Regions from separate parts of the Homo sapiens genome. Here regions 2 and 3 are each linked to region 1. Evidence: promoter capture Hi-C in 16 types of primary human blood cells and fetal thymus (Javierre and others, 2016). All regions are on one chromosome and are shown on one strand. Each heading gives the region's core, a stretch centred on a gene start or on the middle of the fragment in contact. The rest is flanking DNA. Distances are from core to core; before and after follow the strand shown.

Evidence for each region. The method cuts DNA at HindIII sites, captures the fragments that hold promoters and counts their contacts. A CHiCAGO score of 5 or more calls a contact.
Region 2: a fragment that was not itself captured here is called in contact with the fragment with the promoter of BARD1 in region 1 in 1 of 17 cell types (fetal thymus); the score reaches 5.4 in fetal thymus.
Region 3: a contact is called between a fragment that was not itself captured here and the fragment with the promoter of BARD1 in region 1, in 1 of 17 cell types (fetal thymus). The highest score is 6.3, in fetal thymus.

The regions. Positions count from the first base shown.
Region 1 is chr2:214,806,739-214,811,006 of GRCh38, reverse strand. It overlaps BARD1 (BRCA1 associated RING domain 1), which reads left to right and starts at 1,324. Exons shown (of 11, transcript NM_000465.4): 1 at 1,324-1,595. The coding sequence starts at 1,438. It overlaps SNHG31 (small nucleolar RNA host gene 31), which reads right to left and starts at 778. Exons shown (of 4, transcript NR_110292.1): 1 at 575-778. RefSeq lists a silencer at 846-1,415 and enhancers at 1,966-2,045, 2,336-2,385. The HindIII fragment of the contact is 4,673 bases long and covers 597-4,268 here.
Region 2 is chr2:212,736,613-212,740,504 of GRCh38, reverse strand. No RefSeq gene overlaps it. Among named protein-coding and RNA genes, the nearest start is that of LINC01878, 57 kb to the left of the region's middle. The HindIII fragment of the contact is 9,709 bases long and covers 1-3,892 here.
Region 3 is chr2:212,720,382-212,724,591 of GRCh38, reverse strand. No RefSeq gene overlaps it. Among named protein-coding and RNA genes, the nearest start is that of LINC01878, 73 kb to the left of the region's middle. The HindIII fragment of the contact is 2,927 bases long and covers 1,229-4,155 here.

The DNA of each region.
Region 1 (4,268 bases), core at 75-2,574:
ACAAGAGGCTAGTCAAAGAGCAGAGAAAAACTTTAAGGAGTTTTAAGAAAGGGAAGTGCCACGATGAGTTTTGTGTTTGGAAATGTTTTAGGCGGCCACACCGCAGTCTCGGGACTGGCTGGGACCTGGATAGACACTTGGATATCAGCTAGAAAGCTACGACAGGAAACCAGGCGAGGACGAGGCAACTGGGGATGTTGTGGAGCAGAGACGGAGAGAAAATGGGTGCATTCGAGACAAGTTAGGGGGAAAAAATGCAAGGACTTGGAAATGAACTTGGGGCGCGGCAGGAAGGCATGACGGGTTGCTCTGTAGGTCTTATCTGTAAATTACGGCGATCAGTGAAAGATCTGGAGGAGGAAGGTGGACACACTCTCTAACAAAAAAAACCCTTTTTGAAATTTTATACCAATATTTTAAAAGTAAACCAGATCTTTTCAGACATGCCTTTGAGCTGATATTTGTTAACTAGTTAGAATTAGAAACTTTCCTTATTTTTACTCAGTTACAATATACGCCACAGCTGAGGTGAGAGGAAAGAAAAGGTTGCTTTCTTAGGAACAAAGAGTGGTACCTTCAGTATCGTGGGCAAAGCTTTTCCAAGTCCAACAGCAGTCAAAACAGCGCTTTTTATAAATAACACTCAGCTAAAAGTTTCTGGGTTTGTGATTGTTCCAACGGTTAAGCTCGGATGAGGGTCCCTGGAGTCGTAGCTCCCGGGAAACGTCGACTGGCTTTCCACCTGGACTTCATCCGTCCAGGCAGCCCAGAGGGGCTTCAGGCCCCGCCCGCTCTCCTGCCAACTACAGCCTCGCGACTGCGCTCAGCCTTCAGGCCCCGCCCCTTCGGTCAAGCGGCGTGCTCTCACTGCACGGCGCCTGGGCCCCGCGCGCCGGGACCTCGGTTTCAGCCGTCCTGTCCTGCCCCGAGGCCCCTAGGCCCCGCCCCTGGGCCCCGCGCGCCAGGACTTCGGTTTCGACCGTCCTGTCCCGCCCCGAGGCTCCTAGGCCCCGCCCCCTCTGTCCCCGGCGTGTTCTCGCGGCTCCGCCCCTAGGACCCGCGCGCCGGGACTTTGGCAAGTTTCAGCCGTCCGGCCCCGCCCCCTCGGTCCCACGGCTCTCGCGGCCCCTCCCCTAAGTCCCACACGCCGGGACTTTGGCAAGTTTCAGCCTCCAGCCCCACCCCTAGGTCCCGCCCACTCGGCCAGCGGCTGGCTCTCGCGGCCCCGCCCCTGTGCCCTGCGAGTCCCTATTTTGGGAGCATTGCGGCCGCCGTGCCCCGCCCCTCCCCGCGCGCCCCGCCCCTCTGGCGGCCCGCCGTCCCAGACGCGGGAAGAGCTTGGCCGGTTTCGAGTCGCTGGCCTGCAGCTTCCCTGTGGTTTCCCGAGGCTTCCTTGCTTCCCGCTCTGCGAGGAGCCTTTCATCCGAAGGCGGGACGATGCCGGATAATCGGCAGCCGAGGAACCGGCAGCCGAGGATCCGCTCCGGGAACGAGCCTCGTTCCGCGCCCGCCATGGAACCGGATGGTCGCGGTGCCTGGGCCCACAGTCGCGCCGCGCTCGACCGCCTGGAGAAGCTGCTGCGCTGCTCGCGTTGGTAAAGACGGAGCTTCTTGGGGGTGGCTGCGAGGGCACGGGTCGCACAGTTTCTGGGGGCGGCAGAATCTTTTCAAATCTTCCGTTTCCTCCTTCCGTTCCCGCGCTGCAGTCGGGTCGGCGTGCGGTTAGCACCTGCCGGGGGATATAGTATTAACAACTTCTGCTTCTCATTCACTTTATTTTTGGGCGACTTACCGGCCTCCCCTTGCCCTGAATCCAACTGAAACGGTAGTTTTTGAACTTCAGCGGGCTGAAGAACCGTCTGGAGGTGTGGCTAAAAAAATGTTCATCCCGGTCGCGCCTCCAGAGTTTGAATCGGGCTGGGGTGGGGCTGAGGCTTCTGCATTTTTTACCCGGCCCTGGATTACCCCGCTGCTTTCCGGGAGCTGTGGCGAATTGGGCTGGCGGGCCGCCCCGGAGACCCTCTAAATTAGAAGCAGCTGCCACTCTAAGTTAAACTGGCCTTTTTGACATTTTCTCCGTGCCAGCTTTTTCGAGTGAGATGGGATGGAGCATCGGATATCTACCATAGTTGTAGATTGAAGATGGCACGGAATTTCTCATTTTCTTAGTTTGCTCAAAAGACTGTATGTCTGGTGTCCCCGCTCTTAGTGATGCTGTTTATTGTTTTCCTTCATGCTGTCACATTATGGGAGTCCTCTCAGGGTTTTCATTCCGTCCAAAGACATTTTCATGAGTGTTACTTCTTGCTTTTTTTCGTGTAGCTCTTTCTAGTATACAAACCAAGAAGGTTTGTAAAACCCAAGAAAGGTTTGTCTCATTTTCATTTCTTCTGAAAAGCATTTTTATTGAGCACTTGCTGTGTGTACAGCTAAGTATTTCTGTATGAAGATCACTGGCAGTTTTTTTGTTATTTGTAGCTGTCAAAAGTTTATATCCTTTTTGGACTTTTTTCCCCTTTGATTTCTAACTTGCAGAACTTAAGTTACCTAGTTGCATAAAGTATAAGTAACACAACTTTTTCTTTTCTTTCCTTTTTTGAGACGGAGTCTCGCTCTGTCGCCCAGGCTGGAGTGCAGTGGCACGATCTTGTCTCACTGCAAGCTCCGCCTCCCGGGTTCACGCCATTCTCCTGCTTCAGCCTCCCAAGTAGCTGGGACTGCAGGCGCCCGCCATCATGCCCGGCTAATTTTTTGTATTTTTAGTACAGATGGGGTTTCACCGTGTTAGCCAGGATGGTCTCCGTCTCCTGACCTCGTGATCCGCCCGCCTCTGCCTCCCAAAGTGCTGGGATTACAGGCGTGAGCCACGGTGCCCGGCCAAACTTTTTCTTTAAAAATGAAAAGGACTTAACTGTCAGAGTTTTGCACTTATATTTTCTTTGACGAAAACTTTTAATATCTGTGACAAAATGACATTGCACTTCTTAGAAAAGTGACACTCAGATAAGTGAGTACATGAAGACATTTGAGTTGTGTGTTTGTTTTCCTGTAGCACATGGGTCATCTGAGAATAGGAAATTTAAAACTGGCACTGCTAGTTGCAATAACAGAAGCATTATAGTTCACACCTTGATAGTCCAACGAAAGTTAGACATTCCCTTGGCACATACCTATGTGGAAGCATCGGGCTTCACTTAGACTGTGGTCAGAATGCCTGAGTTCAGGTTCTAGCTTTGACACTATTGAGTAGGCCAAGTTATTCATCTCTCATTTTCCGGATATGAGTAATACTAATGATTAGCTTATTTTCTTGTGAGGATTCATTAATAATCATAAATTTATTGAGCACCCATAAAGTGCCAGACCCTATTCTGGGTATTGGGGATTTGTTAGTGAACAAAGCAGACAATAAATTCCATCTCTTAGGGAGCTTTTATGGAAGAAACAAAATGAAATTTTACATGTATGTAAAGTATTGAGTTTGGTGGTTGTGATAGAATAAATGATAAATAATGTGTGTCTTAATCTAAAAGAATGTGGTGTTTGCTTGCTACATGATTTGGGAGAGACAAAATAGATAATATATATGAATATATGTTGTCCTGAAAAATAACAAAGCCGGTTTCACTTTTTATCCCCTACCAAATATTTTTCCAGTTTCTAACTGAAGTGAGTAGACAGTAAGAGGCAACGGAGTGTAAACAGACATCAGTAACCAGGCCCAGACTTTTAGCATGGCTCACCCATTTGACTACAGAATGCTATTGAATGCTATTGATTTTTTTTTTTTTAATCCGAACCTCTATAGATGAACTGAATCTTAACTCTTAGACTGCATGTTTTCATGTAGGGGTCTGCAAATTTTTTCGGTAAAGGGCCAGGTAATTAATATTTTAGGCCTTTCTGCCCGCAAATAGTTTTTGTTCTTATTTATTTTTACATCTCTTAAAAATGTAAAAACCATTCTTTCCTTAAGGGCTGTACAGAAACAGACTGCTGGCTTGGTTTGGCCCACAGGCAATAGTTGCTAAACTGTCGATAAAGTCTTGATAAACTTAATGTCTCAAGTTTAAAAATCCTTTTTGGTATACAATTTTATATCACATGGGGTGCCTTTTTTTTTTTTTTTTCCCTAGGCAAAGTTTCACTCTGTCACCCAAGCTGGAGTGCAGTGGCATGATTTCAGCTCACTGCAACCTCCTTCCCCCGGGTTCAAGCAATTCTCTTGCCTCAGCCTCCTGAGTAGCTGGAACTACAGGTGCATGCCA
Region 2 (3,892 bases), core at 790-3,289, 2.1 Mb after region 1:
TTAATTATTAAGATATACTTCTCATATATATATCTGGATATGTTGGTGTCATTTAGGGGAGGTATCACATAAAGCCCTCATATATCTTCTCCTATATCTTCATATAAGGTATATACCTTTCATATATTTTGTAATTTTTTAAAAATAAAATGGTTATAGCTAATTTTTGATATTTAAAATTTTTCAGTGTAGAGGCTGGGCGCAGTGGTTCACACCTGTATTCCCAGCAATTTGGGAGGCTGAGGTGGGCAGATCACTTGAGGCCAGGAGTTCAAGACGAGTCTGGCCAACATGATGAAACCCAGTCTCTACTAAAAATACAAAAAGATTAGCCAGGCATGGTGGCACGTGCTTATAATCCCAGCTACTCTGGAGGCTGAGGCAGGAGAATCGCTTGAGCCTAGGCGACGGAGGTTGCAGTGAGCCAAGATTGAGTCACTGCAATCCAGGCTGGGCAATAGAGTGAGTGAGACTCCATCTTAAAGAAAAAAAAAAATTCAGTGTAGGAAAGAAAGCAGGAGCAAAAACTAGTAAAGGAATTATTTAGTAATTTAATTAAAAATTTCTAGAAATACATTTGTCAGCTTTCTCACACCTAACTTCGAATCCAGAAGAAACTCTGTGGTCATAAAAGAGACATCTTCAGTTTATTACTTTCCTCCCTGTGAGTGCTTGTACAATCAGCATTACTAAGACAGATATAAAATCATCTCTGTATTGCTTTAAAAAATTTAATTGTTTTCAGAATTTTCCATAGCCTACAGTGAGTGTATCAAGTATTGTACTAAAGAAGTATTGCAAGGTACTGAGCCATGACTAATTTATTACCTGTAGAAATGCCTTAACGCGTAATAAGGTGTTAATTGCATTCAGGTGACACAACTGTAGTTGGAAAGATAATTTGGTGCACCTTATCTGAGCTGATGGAAGTGTGGAAAGCATTCAGGTTACACTGCAGTAAGAAGGGCAATTTCTTGAAGCTCATCAGCACTTGATAATGGACATTTAGCAGCCTAAATAGTAAATGCCAATTATTCTATCACCATTAATGAAAGCATTTCAATTAATAATAAGAGAAAATGGAAGTTTTGATTTTTAAGGTTTTGAGTTGCTCTCTTTTAAAAAGGCATTGGTGTGACTAACAGGAATATAAATTGTTTATTAAATGCTTATTATCCCCATCGGTAAGTCATTTAGGAGCTTTATGAGATACCTACCCTGAACACCACCAACATCCTCAGATAGAAGGTGAAAAACTCAGTGGATCATCCATAGGGTTACAACTTTCCACAAATGAGGATATGAACTAAGGTTAATGTTTGTAGCTGAAAGAACCGAGTGCAAGATCATAGCATTTTGAGTTGTTGTTAAAATCTACTGTCACACGTTAGTTTGATTTGTCACAGGTATACCACAGACACAGTTTGCTAAAACTTTACTCGCTGTGGAAATTTCAAATATCATTTCCTCAGCTGGGGCTCAGGATCACTCACATGTTTTACACACCGAACTTATTCAAGATAACAAATGATTAGCATTTACAGTAGATCCATATGTTCTAAACCAAAATAAGCCAATATGAAATTGAAAATGTTTAGTTTTTCATATATATCCTGTACTTAAAAATTTTTTTTCTTTAAGTTGGTTTTCACCTTTCTCTGGTATCTCCTTGAGTAGCTTAATAATCAACCTTCTGAATCTTTATCTGGCAATACAGAGAGTCCTAGAAAATCATTGCAGGTTATTAGGCCCATGCTGGCTTTACCTTTTTATTTCTCACAGATCAGTCTCTGGAATAAAATTTATAGTTGATATTTGTACTTGCATTAGTTTCATTTTGGTTTTGTATACACACAGATTGGCATAAATGCAATAGTTATTATCACATGAAAATAATAGCTGACTTTATTTAGCACAAACTGTGGTCTAAACACTGTTTTTGTTTAATGTGCATTATTTTATTTAATTCCCGTAATAGCTCTATGAAGCAAGCATTAGTTTTAATCCCCATTTTCCAGATGAGGAAACCAGAGCTTACTATATTAAGACTATTGTTACATGCCTAGTAAACAATGCTTACTAGTAACTGGAGTGAGGCCAGCTTAGACTTTTTTGATGTCTTAGGCTCAAGTATCATATAAATTGGGTGAATGAAACTTGAATGAGAGTTGTTTTATTCCAGAGTGAATGCCTATGAGGTATATTTTTCTTTTATGAAATCAGTTTAACTTGATTTTCTTTATTTTTCTTTCCTCCTCATCCTCCTCCTCCTCCTTCTTCCTCTTTTTTGGCTTCTTAAATTGTAGAATGGAATTTGGCAAGATTGTAGAATTCGTGCATGCACAAACACCAATGGAATGTTTTGTGGCATAGCTGCACCTGCCTATTGAAAGACCATAAAGTTTGGCCCTTTTAAAAGTTATACCTCTTAGCGATGGTTAAGTTAACTAATTGGCGCTAAAAGAAATTGTTAGGTGATAGCACAATTTGCAACATTGAAGTTGAAGCATGACTCCTTTAGCTTTGATTTATTTATTTGATTGATGCTGAATTATATGCTTGTGAGTCATCAACATGGTGCTTGTAAAATATTATTTCAATAGTGAAAAAACTCTAGCTAAAAAGGGAATAATATGAGAAACAGTAGGAAAACTTATTTATCTTCATTATATTTCACTATTTTATATTTTCTGCTTATGGATAATGTAGAAGATTTGAAAAGAGTTGAAAAGGTTATTAAAATTTAGGGAATTTGAAAAGACAAATACATTTCTGAGTGAGACAATATATGTTTTAGTGCAAATCAAATCTTTTCCCCTTTCAAGCCTCCCATGATTATATGCATGTGACATCTAGCTTACATAGGCATTAGGAATCACCCAGAGAGAGAGAGAAAAAAGCAATAAAAATTCAACAGACAGCCTCAGATGCGTAGAGAATAGGCTAGGAGGGAAGGTTAATGTGAGCAAGGGACACTGTGCTAGGATCTGAAGATGGGGTCCTTGTCCTTAGGAACTTTCCAAATAATTAATGAGTATACATAACACACACACAAACACATACACCACACACACACAAACTGCCACACAAGGAGGTAAAGAAGCCCCATTTGTGTAATATGAATAAACTGCTATAAGACTTCCTGGAAGAAGTAGTTAATTTGTGTGTGGGTGATGTGGACATTTTTCATGCAGAAAGTAATATTTGAGCTGGATCTTGCAATATGGGTAAGTTTTAGAGACATTCTAGGTAGAAGTAATGGAATTAGAAAAGGCATAATGGAAGCAGTGTGTAAGGTTCATTAGATGGAGAAATGAGAGTTAATTAGGGCCTGGATCATGATTATGACAGTAGGAAATGGAGAAAATGAATTAAAGGGAAATTGTGAAAGAAGACTCACTAGATATCTCATGCCCATGATGTGAATGTTCCTTGGTTTACAATGACTTTAGATTTGGATCCTCAGCCTGGAAAGTCCAAATAGCAATGATTTTACTAGTTTAACCAAAGGTAACCCCACTCAGGGAAACTGATAAGCACACACACACACACACACACACACACACACACGAGAGAGAGAGAGAGACACACACACACACACACAGAGACACACACATACACACACAGAAGCCAATTTATTTGTTTATTTTGACAAGTTGCAAGGAAAAACATAATAGGAAGTAAAGAAATTAAAGTTTGCTTAACTTTTGCTATGACAGAGATATTTAAATATGTAACAATTATCTCATCAGACTTCACCTGTTTGTAGGTTCAAACAAAATATCTTTTTGTTTTAATTTCAAAACAGCCATCTCAATCTTATCCCATACCTTAAGGATACTAAGACCTCAAACATTTGCTGTTTCTCCTCTTTTCTAGCTTTCTCTAGAAG
Region 3 (4,210 bases), core at 1,443-3,942, 2.1 Mb after region 1:
TGGTGGCAGGCAAGACAGCTTGTGCAGGGGAACTCCCATTTATAAAACCATCAGATCTTGTGAGACTTATTCACTATCATGAGAACAGTATGGGGGAAACTGCCCCCATGATTCAATTATCTCCACCTAGCCCTGCCCTTGACACATAGGAATTATTACAATTCAAGGTGAGATATGGGTGGGGACACAGAGCCAAACTACATCATTCTGCCCCTGGCTCCTCCCAAATCTCATGTCCTCACATTTCAAAAGTATATACCTTCACTCCGTCTCTTCACTACTACCTAACTTTTCTTGTTTCAAAGGAACTGCCTTTTGGGTTTTCACTAGGTTCCTGTTTCCTACCTGAGGAATCTACTCTGGGAAGCAGATCACAAGTGACTGAGCGGTTCTGAGCTCCTAAAATGAGGAAACCTTTCCCAGATCAAATTACTACTTGACATCTTAAGTTACCAGTTCAACAGGTGATTTTGGGGAGGCCAGGAGATTCATTATTCAGTGTATTACTCCTAGCTTTTCTCTGCTCATATAATACCCAATGTAGTAGTTCAATCATTACATTTTATAAAAATAAATTTAATATGCAGTAAATATTAAAAGAAAACAGTGAAAGGGAATATAATTCCTATTTGCCATGCATATTTCAAATTGCAATGTGAAATAGATACATGAAACAGATGCGAGCCAACTTGTTCTTTGACAATCATTGCTAGTTATTCCACAACAGATTTTATTGATCATCTTTCAAGTGCAAGCCACTATGGAAGAATCTTGTGGACTAGACAGAGTACTCAGCCAGAATCCCTATCTTTTGAATGAACTCTTTTATTCTTTAGTTTTTTGAACTTAGCCTACTCTCTAATAATAGCAGCATTTCTAATTTTCAGACATTCTTTTAGCTATTCTCTTTGCTCCTTCTGAGACTCTAAAAAGGCAATAACTGCTTTTATTTATTTATTTATTTATTTTTAAAATGGGTTGTCTATAAATACACCTGGTAATATGACTCACCAACCACCAAGCCATCTCACATAAAGAGGCAGAATTGTTTTGGGGCCACAGAAATCTGGTTTTGAGGGGGTGCTGTCTGGTTTCACAGCCTTGACTCCCATCTCTCTTCATTGGAGTCTTTCAAGGATGTCTCTGAATGGCTTTGCACAACACAGTGAGATGTGGTTTTGTGCAGAACTTAGGGCAAGGGGGAAAAAAAGAAAAGAGAAATAAAGCTTCCCTCTAGTAAATTGGCAGAAAAACATTTCTAAAGGTTACACACCACCCACACATTCCTTTCAAATGATCAAAGTCTTACAAGAGGTCACGGAAGGAGAAAACAGGAGAGAGGGAGCCTGAAATACTTTTTTTAAAGTGCTCTGTATTGCAATTCTTGCTGAATAAGGAACAAATTAGGACTCTTGTTAATCTTTTGGAAAATTATTGGATTGAAAGAAACAAACATTAAATTGAATCGGTAAACTGATATCTCTAAAATGAACAATGCCTATCTCTTTCTACATCTCATTCCAAATTCAACACTGTTTTTGTCCATCGCATTTTTAAGTATTTAATTTAGTTATTTATTTATTTTTAGTTTTAATTTTCATAGTCCTCTATACTTCCTGGTTTCAGCAGAATTCACTAAACTAGTCGTCTTGATATGCCAGTCCATCCCCACATGGGAAATACTTAACATTTAAAAGAAATCTGTCTGGACGTGATTTTCTTACCTATCGGTAGTTTCTAAACTCACACCTTGTCTTTGAAATCGGCCTTAGTTTTGTAGGTATCTTGGGCCATTCTTTATAGCTTGGTTGTGGCTCTCCACTCATTTTCATCAGGTAGAGTGAAATGGTCCCTTGTCTATATTTTCATAGAAATATACACCTCGGTTAGAACTTATAAGTTTTGTTTGCTGGCCTCATCCTGATAGTGGAATCTGCTCAAGGGAAAATACTGTTTTCTACGCATTTGCATCCCTAACTCCTAGCAAACTGTCTGACAGGTAATGGATACTCAATAAATATTTGTTGAAAGAATTAATATATCTTTTTTAATTTGCAAAGCTCCAGGTATAAATCTGTGGTTTTTCTTGACACTCTCCACCAGGTGCAAGTGGCTAGGGACCAGAAATTTTTGTTGTTGTTTAATCCCTCTTTGCCATTTGTTGCCCTACCTTCCTTCCCAGGTTCCCTGTTGCCTTGGTCCATACACAAACAGATTCTATCACAATACAAAAGAAAAGATGTAAAAAAAAACCTCTAGAAGGTACTTTAGGTTTTCAATGAAAGGAAATTTTACAACAGGTTTGTGCTTGATTCTATTAAATACTGATTGCTTAATGCCTATGGTGACTTGCTCATCTCTAGTATTGTATGAGTGAAATTCTGAACATGACAGTCTCTTCTCTTACTCTCCAGTTACAGGTTCTGTTAGCTGCTTTCTCCATTGACTTCTGTCTAAGCAAGCTGCCCCTAACTCCAGGTATCTTATTTGACGACTGCAGTACCTTTCCTTGACCTCTGGCTTTAAGATGGACCTTGGTTTTGAAAAGCATTTTACTTATGCCTTCTTCTGTCCTGAAGTCTAGAATAAACTTAAGGCCAGTACTTGCTTTCTGGAGCGTGGTCTGGTCAAAGTCCCCATGGCTGCTGTAATCAATCTGAGAAATCTGGAAGATCATGAATGCCTATGTAGATCTCTTAATTTGACAACTCTCAACACAGCTCAAGTTGGATTTACTGAGTCCCCACTTTTTTTTTTCCCTTATTTTATTTGCTGTCCTCATCCCTGCCGGATGCTGAGTAATCCCCGCCTCAGGAATTTGTGGATGTTGAGATGATGGACACATAGGTACCATGGATATGAAGTGAAGTGTACATAGTAAATAGAAGAGGGAGTCTAAAAGAAGAAAGTCTATAAATTTAGTCAAGAGGTAAACAACAACCAAGGAGAGAGAGTGGACTGGGCCCTTATAATAGCTATTGAGAGATGACAACGTGCTATCAGCCCTTGATCGCTCTTGGCACCTCCTCAGGCCATGGCGTCCACTCTGGCCGAGCTTCCCGAAGCTCGGCACTGCACTGTGGGAGCCCCTCTCTGGGCTGGCCAAGGCCAGAGCCGGCTCCCTCTGCTTGCAGGGAGGTGTGGAGGGAGAGGCGCAGGCGGAACCCGGCTGCGCGGCGGTCGCAGGCCAGCTCGAGTTCCGGGTGGGCACGGGCTCAGTGGCCCTGCACTTAGAGTGGCAGGCCGGCGCTGCTGGTCCGTGCAGTGAGAGGCTTAGCACCTGGTTCAGCAACTACGGAGGGTGCAGCGGGCCCCCAGCAGTGCCGGCCCATGGGTGCCACGCTCGAATTCTCGCTGGGCCTCAGCTGCCTCCCCGCGGGGCAGGGCTCCAGACCTGCAGCCCGCCATGCCCAAGCCTCCCCCGCCCCGTCGTGGGCTCCCACACGGCCCTACCCTCCCCAACGGGCATCTCCCCCTGCTCCGCGGGGCCAGTCCCATCCACCGCCCAAGGGCTGACGAGTGCGGGCGCGTGGCGCCGGACTGGTGAGCAGCTCCGCCTGCGGCCCCAGCGCAGGATCCACTAGGGGAAGCCAGCTGGGCTCCTGAGTGGGGTGGGGACTTGGAGAACTTTTATGTCTAGCTGGAGGATTGTATATGTGCCAATCAGCACTCTGCATCTAGCTCGGAGTTTGTGGATGCACCAATCAGCACTCTGTATCTAGCTAATCTGGTGGGGACTCCGAGAACTTTTATGTCTAGCTAAAGGATTGTAACCGCACCAATCTGTGCTCTGTGTCTAGTTTATCTGGTGGGGACTTGGAGAACTTCTATGTCTAGCTGGAGGGTTGTAAATGCACAAATCAGCACCCTGTGTCTAGCTCAAGGTTTGTAAAGGCACCAATCAGTGCTCTGTGTCTAGCTAATCTAGTGCGGACTTGGAGAAATTTGTGTGTAGCTAAGGGATTGTAAATGCACCAATCAGCACTCTGTGTCTAGCTCAAGGTTTGTGAATGCACCAATCAGCCCCTTGTCAAAACGGACCAATCAGCTCTCTGTAAAACAGACCAATCAGCAGAATGTGGGTGGGGTCAGATAAGTGAATAAAAGCAGGCTGCCCGAGTCAGCGGCAGTAACGATCTCTGCTTGGTGGAAGCTTTGTTCTCTTGCTCTTCGCGATAAATCTTGCTGCTGCTCACTCTTTGGGTGCGCA